2 separate regions of the Homo sapiens genome follow, and region 2 is linked to region 1. The links are contacts of gene promoters, found by promoter capture Hi-C in blood cells and fetal thymus (Javierre and others, 2016). All regions are on one chromosome and are shown on one strand. The core of a region is centred on a gene start or on the middle of the fragment in contact, and the rest is flanking DNA. Distances in the headings are between cores, read along the strand shown. Region 1 holds the start of RPA4 (replication protein A4). Region 2 overlaps DIAPH2 (diaphanous related formin 2).

Region 1 (5,599 bases), core at 1,266-3,765:
TGAGGTTGAGGAAAATGTTGAGATATATACAACACAATTTTACTATATCAATTCTGTGATCAAGAATTTTTAAGTGTGTAGCACTCTGCACACATTTTTATATAACAAAATAAATATTCTATGCATTATTTTACTTAAATTTTTTTTGAAACATTGTCTAAAATGGTCTCTTTGTTTATTTTATAGGGTGGGCTGAAAAACAGCAAACATGAATGCACCCTGTCTTCACAAGAATATGTTCATGAATTACGATCGGGTATATCAGATGAGAAACTTCTTAATTGCCTAGAATCCCTCAGGGTTTCTTTAACCAGCAATCCGGTCAGGTAAGTCGTTCTTATCATTTCGGTATGATTCATACAATTTGTAGTGCATATAATTGTTTGGGAATATAATAAGTTTTGTTATTTAAACCTCAAGATTTCCTGACTAAAAATCTGATGTTAATAAAACAGCAGCATCTGATTGTGAAGTCGTAAACTTTTAAAAATATATTTAGTTAGTTGGATCTCTAGTAATGTACAATTTTAAGAATACAAATGTTAACATAGAGCCAGAAGTTAAATATCCACATTTACATGGAAATCTATTTGTGGGATCAGATAATTATTATATATTTATTTATAAAGCAAATTAAGTATATTTGCTCCATGATTTTATTCTTTTTTTTTTTTGTGAGACAGAGTCTTGCTCTGTTGCCCAGGCTGGAGTGCAGTGGCACGATCTTGGCTCACTGCAACCTCTGCCTCCCAGGTTCAAGCAATTCTTCTACCTCAGCCTCCTGAGTAGCTGGGACTACAGGCACGCACCATCATGCCTGGCTGATGTTTGTATTTTTAGTAGGGAAGGGGTTTCACCATATTGGCCAGGCTGGTCTCGAACTCTTGATCTCGTGATCCACCTGCCTTGGTCTTCTAAAGTGCTGGGATTACAGGTGTGAGCCACCGCGCCCGGCCGATTTTATTCTTTTAAAACTTGAAAGGTATATATAACTTTATGTTCTTCTATAAGTTTTAGATATACTCTTCACATATTTCTGTAATTTTGAGATAGCAAAAAGTGAATTATTTTAACCAGTAAAAGAAGTGAGAGCATTAATAAACTTCTCAAAACTCTACTAATTTAGGCTATTAACTAACTACAAAGGATTGTTATTAGGTTACTTGCCAATGGTGGATTCCAGTAACTGTGGTTCCTTTATTAAGCCTTTAAATCAATAACACCCAAAATAAAATGTTTTATAAAGAAAAATAAAATTTCAATAAAATATCAAAACATTCTTGGCCGGGCGTGGGGGCTCACACCTATAATCCCTGCACTTCAGGGGGCTGAGGCAAGTGGATCGCTTGAGTCCAGGAGTTCGAGACCAGCCTGGCCAACATGGTGAAACCCCGTCTCTACCAAAAATACAAAAAAGTCAGCCAGGTGTGGTGATGTGCGCCTGTGGTCCCAGGTATTCACGAGGCTGAGGTGGGAGGATCACCTCAGCCCGGGAGGTGGAGGTTGCAGTGAGCCCATATCCCGCCACTGCACTCCAACCTGGGAGACAGAGCGAGACCCTGTCTCCAAAAAAAAAAAAAAAAAAAAAAAACAAAAAAACAAAAATCCGGGATCTATTTATGTAACTACTAGAATCTTAAGTTCAGAATTTACTCCATAAGAGTATATAAAAAACTTACTGTGATTTTATCCATGTTTTTCCTAATATATAATAGGTCTAAGTCTTGTACTTTTCTGTCCTGTCCACAGAGCCTTGAAAATAATTTAGAGCTCAGTCATTCAGTTTGGATTTATGTATAAATTGAAATATATTAATTACTTATTTATAGTGCACTTGGCAAAATGCCCAGAAAATTACAATTTTAAAACAACAAAAAATTTTTTAAAAGCCAGTGTTAAGATGTGACTTATCTTAGAGTATGATAATCGTTGAAAGACGATTGTCTTGCCATTTCTTCCAAAATGCTCCTAGGTTTTTTGTTTTTTGTTTTTTGTTTTTTTTTTTGAGACGGAGTTTTGTTCTTGTCACCGAGGCTGGAGTGCAGTGGTGCTGTCTCGGTTCACTGCAACCTCTGCCTCCTGGGTTCAAGCGATTCTCCTGCCTCAGCCTCCCGAGTAGCTGGGATTACAAGCCTGCACCACCACGCCTGGCTAATTTTAGTATTTTTAGTAGAGACGGGATTTCACCACGTTGGCAGGCTAGTCTCGAACTCCTGACCTCAAGTAATCAACCTGCCTCAGCCTCCCAAAGTTCTGGGATTACAGGCGTGAGCCACTGCGCCCGGCCTGATGCTCCTAGTTTTAATGGTTTGAATGAACAGGGGACGTGAGTTCTTGAGAACAGTAACTACGGTGGTGCATTTTTCCCCCCTGCACGTAACGTACAGCACTCTACCGTTTTGCCAAGCACTTTGTGCTCCTAAAATTTCTGTTGCATTGTTGTTTGAATGAATGAATAAATGAGTCTTTTAAAAGTAATTGTAGAAGTTGCAGCATTAAGAAATAAAGAGGGGGGCTAGTAAAAATGCATTTTTATAGAGATGTTGGGAAAGGCTTGCTTGAAATTACACGTGGGACTTTTAATAGATAGGCGCTTTGACCAGCTAAGCAACAGGGCTCCCCTCGTGTGGGACTTTTAGAATGTAGCAACCACTGACACACAGGGAAGGATTATGCGATCAGGTGAGAAGGTGGCCGACCCTGACTGGCTGGAAGCAGATGCATTCTGGTAGTTGATTGGTCCACAGGTAGCGTGACGCTTGTCACGTCCTCAGCCTCCCAGCATTCAATCGTAGCCTTTCGGACAGCTCGAAGCCTTCTGTGGAGAGCTCGAAGCCTTCTGTGGAGAACTCAAAGCCGTCCGTGGAGCCCCAGACGAGCCAAAGCCCACCTTCTCCTCAGCCTGAGCTGTCTTGAAGATGAGTAAGAGTGGGTTTGGGAGCTATGGCAGCATTTCTGCTGCTGATGGAGCGAGTGGAGGCAGTGACCAACTGTGTGAGAGAGATGCAACTCCTGCTATTAAGACCCAAAGACCTAAGGTCCGAATTCAGGACGTTGTACCGTGTAATGTGAACCAGCTTCTCAGCTCTACTGTGTTTGACCCTGTGTTCAAGGTTAGGGGAATTATAGTTTCCCAGGTCTCCATCGTGGGGGTAATCAGAGGGGCAGAGAAGGCTTCAAATCACATTTGTTACAAAATTGATGATATGACCGCGAAACCAATCGAGGCCCGACAGTGGTTTGGTAGAGAGAAAGTCAAGCAGGTGACTCCATTGTCAGTCGGAGTATATGTCAAAGTGTTTGGTATCCTCAAATGTCCCACGGGAACAAAGAGCCTTGAGGTATTGAAAATTCATGTCCTAGAGGACATGAACGAGTTCACCGTGCATATTCTGGAAACGGTCAATGCACACATGATGCTGGATAAAGCCCGTCGTGATACCACTGTAGAAAGTGTGCCTGTGTCTCCATCAGAAGTGAATGATGCTGGGGATAACGATGAGAGTCACCGCAATTTCATCCAGGACGAAGTGCTGCGTTTGATTCATGAGTGTCCTCATCAGGAAGGGAAGAGCATCCATGAGCTCCGGGCTCAGCTCTGCGACCTTAGCGTCAAGGCCATCAAGGAAGCGATTGATTATCTGACCGTTGAGGGCCACATCTATCCCACTGTGGATCGGGAGCATTTTAAGTCTGCTGATTGAGGCAGGGAAAACATCCTTTCATTTTTCGAAGACCCTTGCATCCAGCTGTGAGTAATTTTGACCTGTTGACTTTTTAGGAAGTAGGACTAAAAAAAAAAATCTCAAGTGGCATTCTTTGTCAACTCGCTGCTTTTCTAACTGCTTTGAACTTTTCGGATTTTCTGTATTTGAAGCTCAGAGAGAGACGGTGATGGATAAATTGACAACTCTGTAGGATTTACTAGCAAGCTAATGGAAACATGATTTTCGGGGAAGAAAAACTACAGAAAATGTAGAAATTTATTATTTAATTGTGTTGGAGCTTCTTTTTCCAAAAGAAAAACTAGTTGCAGTCAGGGAGCCAGCGAAAAGACAAAAAAAAAAAAAAAAAAAAAAAAAGTCTTGCTTGTTTTTATGTTAGACTTATTTTCCGTGTTTGGATTTAGCTTATTATAATGATACTGTTATCTCTTGCTCAATATAGTATTTAGTATTTGATTAATTCAAATGAGCTGAAGATACTAATTTGTGAATTCTAATGCTCAGTTCAAACATTTATGTGTGATTTGCTCTTATTACTATGAATTTATGTTTTCTTAAAATAAGATTATACTGTGTTTAAATAAACCATTTTTGCCAGGTTATCTTTGAAATTTTTTAAAATGTGGTGAAGTTCAATGATTATTTCATATATGATGTGGTATTTGGATGAAATTACAATTTATTGTAGTTGTATGGTAAATGGATGCCAGAGTTTCTGTAAGTTTGATGTGCTGGTGTATTATTTATTTTACTAAATGCTCTGTTTTATGTATAAAAAGGTAATTTTTAGGACGTTAGGGAAACAGCTCATAGGAATATGAAACTTACTGAGTTTAACACAAATTTATTCAAATGTTTTATTAAAGTAGTTTACAAAATCTTAACTTTCCTGTGTGATTTTTTTTTCTAAGTACATTTGAAAAAGCCTTTTTGTTTTATATCCTTGAGGATTAATAGTTTCACTTATCCAGAATTTTTTCTTTTCTATATATAAAATACCCAGAACATATGCTATAGCCTAGTTCTAACAATACATTTTAGTGTAGATTATATAAATTATGTGAGACTTTTAAATAATTGACCATTAACGAAAGCCCTCAGTTACCTATACACTAAAGATGGTGTCTTTCAAGATGCTAATTTTTTTACATTAGAGGAAATAAAAAACATATACTTTTTAATGAATATATGTTATATTTTATATATGTATATTCATATATAATATACAAATAGAAGAACATTATTTGTCAAATTGAATCATGAAAACTGCAACAAAAAAAAAATCTCTTAAATGGAACATTGCCAGTACTCCGTACTTTCAGGAAAACTTTCAGAAAATGGCCTGTGTCAGTGGCCATTAGAAAAACCACTAATTCTTGCTTAAGCTTTGTGATGCATATTTTTCTTCCCCTTGAAAGTAAAGAAATTGTAAATGGCACTCTTGAAAAGCACAGATGAATAACATACTATAAACCTGTTACTTAAATTATCAGACATTTTGAAAATTCTGGTCTTCATAAACCTAAAATATTCGGAACCACTTTTTGTTGAAAAAGGTTACCTGTCCTAGGGAAAATCATACTGGGGGAGAGGCAACAAGGGGCATATATACTTGGAATTGTGGAGCTGAAAGAGTCTAGCAGATACAATATTCTTTTGTGACATTAAAATCTGATATTTATGAGTATAATTATAGGTCACTCCCATAATTGCTTGAGCTGATTCAGCTGGCCAGTGGATGCGTAGCCACTTGTTTTTCCTATACTAGGAGCATGCGGAGGGGGAAAAAAACTCTTTTTTTTTTGTTTGGGAGGCCAAACTGCTTTTGTCCCTGCAAACTGATACACTGAGATATGTACACCTGAATTTAAGGC
Region 2 (4,962 bases), core at 1,194-3,693, 550 kb after region 1:
ACAGAGCTCTACCATTGTGTTTCTAATTGTAATCTTTTTATTTATTTTTTATTTATTATTATTTTTTTGAGACGGACTCTTGCCCTGTTGCCCAGGCTGGAGTACAGTGGTGCGATCTCGGCCCACTGCAACCTCCACCTCCTGGGTTCAAGAGATTCTCGTGCCTCAGCCTCTCCAGTATCTGGGATTACAGGGACATACCACCATGCCCAGCTAATTGTTGTATTTTTATTTTATTTTTATTTTTATTTTTATATTTTGAGATAGAGTCTTGCTCTGTTGCCCAGGCTGCAGTACAGTGGCATGATCTTGGCTCACTGCAGCCTCTACCTCCCAGGTTCAAGTGATTCTGCTGACTCAGCCTCCCGAGTATCTGGGACTACAGGTGCCCGCCACCACGTCCAGCTAGTTTTTGTATTTTTAGTAGAGATGGTATTTCGCCAGGTTGGCCAGGCTGGCCTCAAACTCCTGACCTCAGGTGATCCGCCCACCTCGGCCTCCCAAAGTGCTGGGATTACAGGCGTGAGCCACCATGCCCGGCCAAATTGTTGTATTTTTAGTAGAGACTGTGTTTTGCCCTATTGCCCAGGCTGGTCTCGAACTCCTGACCTCAGGTGATCTACCCACTTGGGCCTCCCAAATTGCTGGGAGTAGAGGTGTGAGCCACTGTGCCCGGCCATCTAATTGTAATGTTTTAAATTTTATATGTAAACAAGATGAGGTGATAGTCTGTATTCTTCATTAGAAAATCAAAATGTTAATAAATGATATGATTAGTTGCCTAAATTATAAATCGCCCACTCTGAGCCTGTGCCCCCTACCCAAGACCTACCATATTTAGTAACTCAGAAGGAGCTTCCACATATTGCCTCCAGCCCATTCAGCGGATGTGCTGTTTCAGTTAAGTACCAAAAGGCATTTCAAGGTAGACTATCATATCAGTAGTGATAATTGAAAATATTTTTTTTTAATAAAAAACAAAAAGGCTGGGCGTGGTGGCTCATCCCTATAATCCCAGCACTTTGGGAGGCTGAGGTGAGAGGATCATTTGAGCTCAGGAGTTTGAGGACAGCCTGGACAACATAGCAAAACCCCATCTCTACAAAAAAATACAAAAAAAAATTAGCCAAGCATGGTGGCATGTGCCTGTAGTCCCAGCTACTCAGGTGGCTGAGGTGAGAGGATTGCTTGAGCACGGTAGGCAGACGTTGCAATGAGTAGAGATCGTGCCACTGCACTCCAGCCTGGATGACAGAGCCAGACCCTGACTCAAAAAAAGAAAAAAAGAAAATATTAACTGGTGTATCACAGGCCCCAGATAGTCGAAATGTACACAGGTGATAAATAACGACTCTGGTTGTACTGGTGCATACTAGCTGAATATTAACCCAGATCACAAGCTTTGCTGATGTCAAAATCAGAGATTAGGAAATGAGCCCCTAAATATTCATTTATTGTACATCTGCTGTGTAAAAGGTACTATGCTGTACATGATGAGGGAAGATGTAGAAATAATTAAGATAAGATTTCCTTAGTTATAAGACCCTGTGTATTATAGGAACGATAAAAAGCACAGAAAGACTACAGAATAAGGCAGAAGATAATAAGTATCATACAAGAGGTGTTAATAACATACTGTGTGACTTCAGAGAATGGGACTTGCATGCATTATCAGATATATCAGAAAAATAATAATGGAGGAAAAGACTGAAGGATGAGTAGGGATTCCAACAGTGAGAGCTGGAGTTAGGGATAGTGGGCATTTTAGTCAAAAGAAATGTCATTAAGAAAAACAGAGGCAAGAAAGTTCAAAGCATTTTTCAACAATGGCAAACAGTACAGTAAGAAAATAGGATATATATAGCATAGAAGTATAGGGGTAATTCTGGAAAATTAGGTTTGCTCCATATCAGGGAGTGCTTGAATGAGAGACTAAGGTGTTAACTTACAATTCTCTAAGCAATGGGGATTTATTGAAGGCTTTTAAGCAGTGGAGGAACACAAGTTACGCATTAGAATATTTAAAGGAGTATAAGTAATCAATTAGGAGTCTATTGTCATATTCTTATTTAGAGATAATTTAGCGTGAGAGGAGTAGTCAAGAGGCAAAGATAACCCTATGGCTTTGAGTATGACTGGCTAAGAAGACATTTGGGTTACTAAACTTTTTTTTTTTTTTTTTTGAGAAGGAGTCTCACTCTGTCCCCAGGCTGAAGTGCAGTGGTGCGATCTCCGCTCACTGCAACCTCCGCCTCCCAGGTTCAAGCAATTCTCATGCCTCAGCCTCCTGAGTAGCTGGGATTACAGGCACACGCCACCGCACCCAGCTAATTTTTTTTTAATTTTTAGTAGAGACGAGGTTTCATCATATTGGCCAGGATGGTCTCAATCTCCTGACCTCATGATCCGCCCGCCTTGGCCTCCCAAAGTGCTGGGACTACAGGTGTGAGCTACCGCACCCAGCCGTAAGGTTACTAAACTATTAAGATCAAGAAAAGGAGTGGTGATAGTAGAAGAAGGTAAATTCAGTTTTGGATAAGTTAAACTGAAAGTGATAGCAGAACACTGAGGTCAAGATGTCCAGAAGATTTTTGGAAATATAGTTACAGATTTCATGACAAAATGAATTCTTGAGTGTTCTGGATATAGTGTGGATAGGGGAAGGGATTGTTATAGGGATTTTTAAGAGAAAAGAAAACCAAAGACAGAGACTTGGAAACACCTTCACTAAGGGGCTAAAAGAAGATAGACAAGGAGCAATTGGGCAGGTAGGAGAATCCAGACATTATTGTCCTAGAAACAAAGGAAGAGGGAAGTCCTAAGAAGGGAGGAGAGGTGAACATTTTTGACAATGACATACGCTCTGGTGGAATAAAAAAGGGTAAAAAACCGATGATTTGCTATTTGGGAGCTTTCTAATGACTTTTTGAAGAGCATCCTTTCAATATTGTGATGGAACTGGGAAGAGAATACAGAGCTATGCAGAGTAGATGGTGAGGCTATAGGGAAAGATCATATTCATTCAACAGTTGAGCAGTCTTATTGAATGCCTCCTCGGTGCATTATACTGAGTTAGGTACTGAGGATACAAAATCAAACGGGAGCCTAGAGGAGCTCACATACTGTTTGGGAAAACACGAATATAAACCATGTGATCAATTTACAATGCGGTCTTCTATATGCTGTAATAGAGATAGGAACAGTAAGCCTGTGCAGCATAGGAGTTAGAGTAACCACTCCCAACCCCCCACCTCTCTCCTTTGTGTCTGTATAATATGGGCTATTCTTTCTAGCAGTTTGGTGGGTGAAAGGTACATCTCATTTTTCCTTCACAACCTAGTATGGATTTATCTTCTCTGAATTTTGCTAAATCTTTCTTGATCCTGTGTTGTTACAGCCTTTGTTACCACATAAGATAATAAGTTGCATACATTTACCATCTACTTTGTAAAGAATTGCCCTGGCTGTGTAATTGTAAGATCAAAGATAAGCTTTGGAGGAAAAAGAAGCACATAGAGAGACACCTTGCAGGAGTGAAAATGACTCTTTTTTTTTTTCTTTTTTTCCTTTTTTTTTTTTTTGAGATGGACTCTCACTCTGTTGCCCAGGCTGGAGTGCGGTGGCGCGATCTTGGCTCACTGCAAGCTCCGCCTCTCGGGTTCATGCCATTCTCTTGCCTCAGCCTCCCAAGTAGCTGGGACTACAGGGCCTGCCACCACGCCCGGCTAATTTTTGTATTTTTAGTAGAGGCGGGGTTTCACCGTGTTAGCCAGGATGGTCTCAATCTCCTGACCTCGTGATCCACCCTCCTTGGCCTCCAAAAGTGCTGGGATTACAGGCGTGAGCCACCGTGCCCAGCCAGAAAACCACTCTTAAAATACAAATACACAACTCCACATCTGTTTTATTGCCAAATAGCTATAGATACTTAGAGCTTGCTTCTCTTTCTTCAACCAACCCGACTTTTTTATTCTTTGCCCACTGTAAGTAAATATAAATGGGCTTCTCAGCAATAGGTGGATATCTAACTTAGCATTTTGGCTATGACTGGATTTTGATATATAGTTCTAGACATTAAAAAAACACACAAGAGAAGCATTATGAAGAAATGAAACCAGGAAACAATAAATGTATTTTGGTTTTAGAACCACACGGGGCAACCAAGAAAACTAAATTTCAAAAATCAGGAGCAACTCAGGAGACACATGATCCTAGTTTTATGTGTCAGCAAGATAACAGTATAAATGAGAAGGTATAATTTACCATTTGAGAACAGATAGGGGACAAGAAACAATGTTATACAACAGAGAAAAAGAAACCTCCGTATGTATTAGGGAAGAATAATTTCACAGCAAAACAAAACCCACATTTCCCCAGGCCTCACTGCCTCATGTAAATAAGAAAACTCAAATTTTGCTGGCTCTTGTCTCTACATACACATTCAGCACCTCATCTGCTATAAGGGATCTATGAAGCATTTCTGGGAGTTATCAGGGGGCATTTCACAGAAACAAGCAAACACCACCGTTCCTCCACCTCTGCTATAATATCATGCATTTCTACGCTTGCTGTCTTCTGTAGCAGCAGGGACTCATGGCTTCACAACGCCAGAGTTTGACAGTCATCATTGACAAAGTAGGGGGGAAATGCCTCTCTCTTTTCCTTTAGTGCGGCACTCCACCTGTGTACCAAGTAGTACTGCTTATGCCTCAGACTATTACAGATAATTTTAGAGAAAGAGCTTTCAATTTTAAATGACACCCTCCCCCGCCCACCATCACAGAGGATTTGACCCAAGATGGCAAGAGCCAAAGACAAGCTCATAACAGATCCCACGTAATACTCAGCATCATCTTGATGACCAAGGTCTATTGTGGTTTTGTGCTTGTTTTGTTTTATTATTACTAGGTCTTGCTGGTCGTTCATTCCAAGCTGTTTACTTCTTTCTCCCTGAAGATAAGT

Evidence for each region. Contacts are between HindIII fragments. The CHiCAGO score rates a contact against its expected background, and 5 or more counts as called.
Region 2: a contact is called between a fragment that was not itself captured here and the fragment with the promoter of RPA4 in region 1, in 1 of 17 cell types (neutrophils). The highest score is 5.9, in neutrophils.

Annotation. Positions count from the first base shown.
Region 1 is chrX:96,881,393-96,886,991 of GRCh38, forward strand. It overlaps RPA4 (replication protein A4), which reads left to right and starts at 2,516. Exons shown (of 1, transcript NM_013347.4): 1 at 2,516-4,075. The coding sequence starts at 2,919. The coding sequence ends at 3,704. DIAPH2 (diaphanous related formin 2) reads left to right here. Exons shown (of 27, transcript NM_006729.5): 5 at 187-326. The HindIII fragment of the contact is 5,808 bases long and covers 1-5,108 here.
Region 2 is chrX:97,432,245-97,437,206 of GRCh38, forward strand. The region is part of intron 26 of DIAPH2 (diaphanous related formin 2); the gene reads left to right. Among named protein-coding and RNA genes, the nearest start is that of DIAPH2-AS1, 130 kb to the right of the region's middle. The HindIII fragment of the contact is 2,091 bases long and covers 1,399-3,489 here.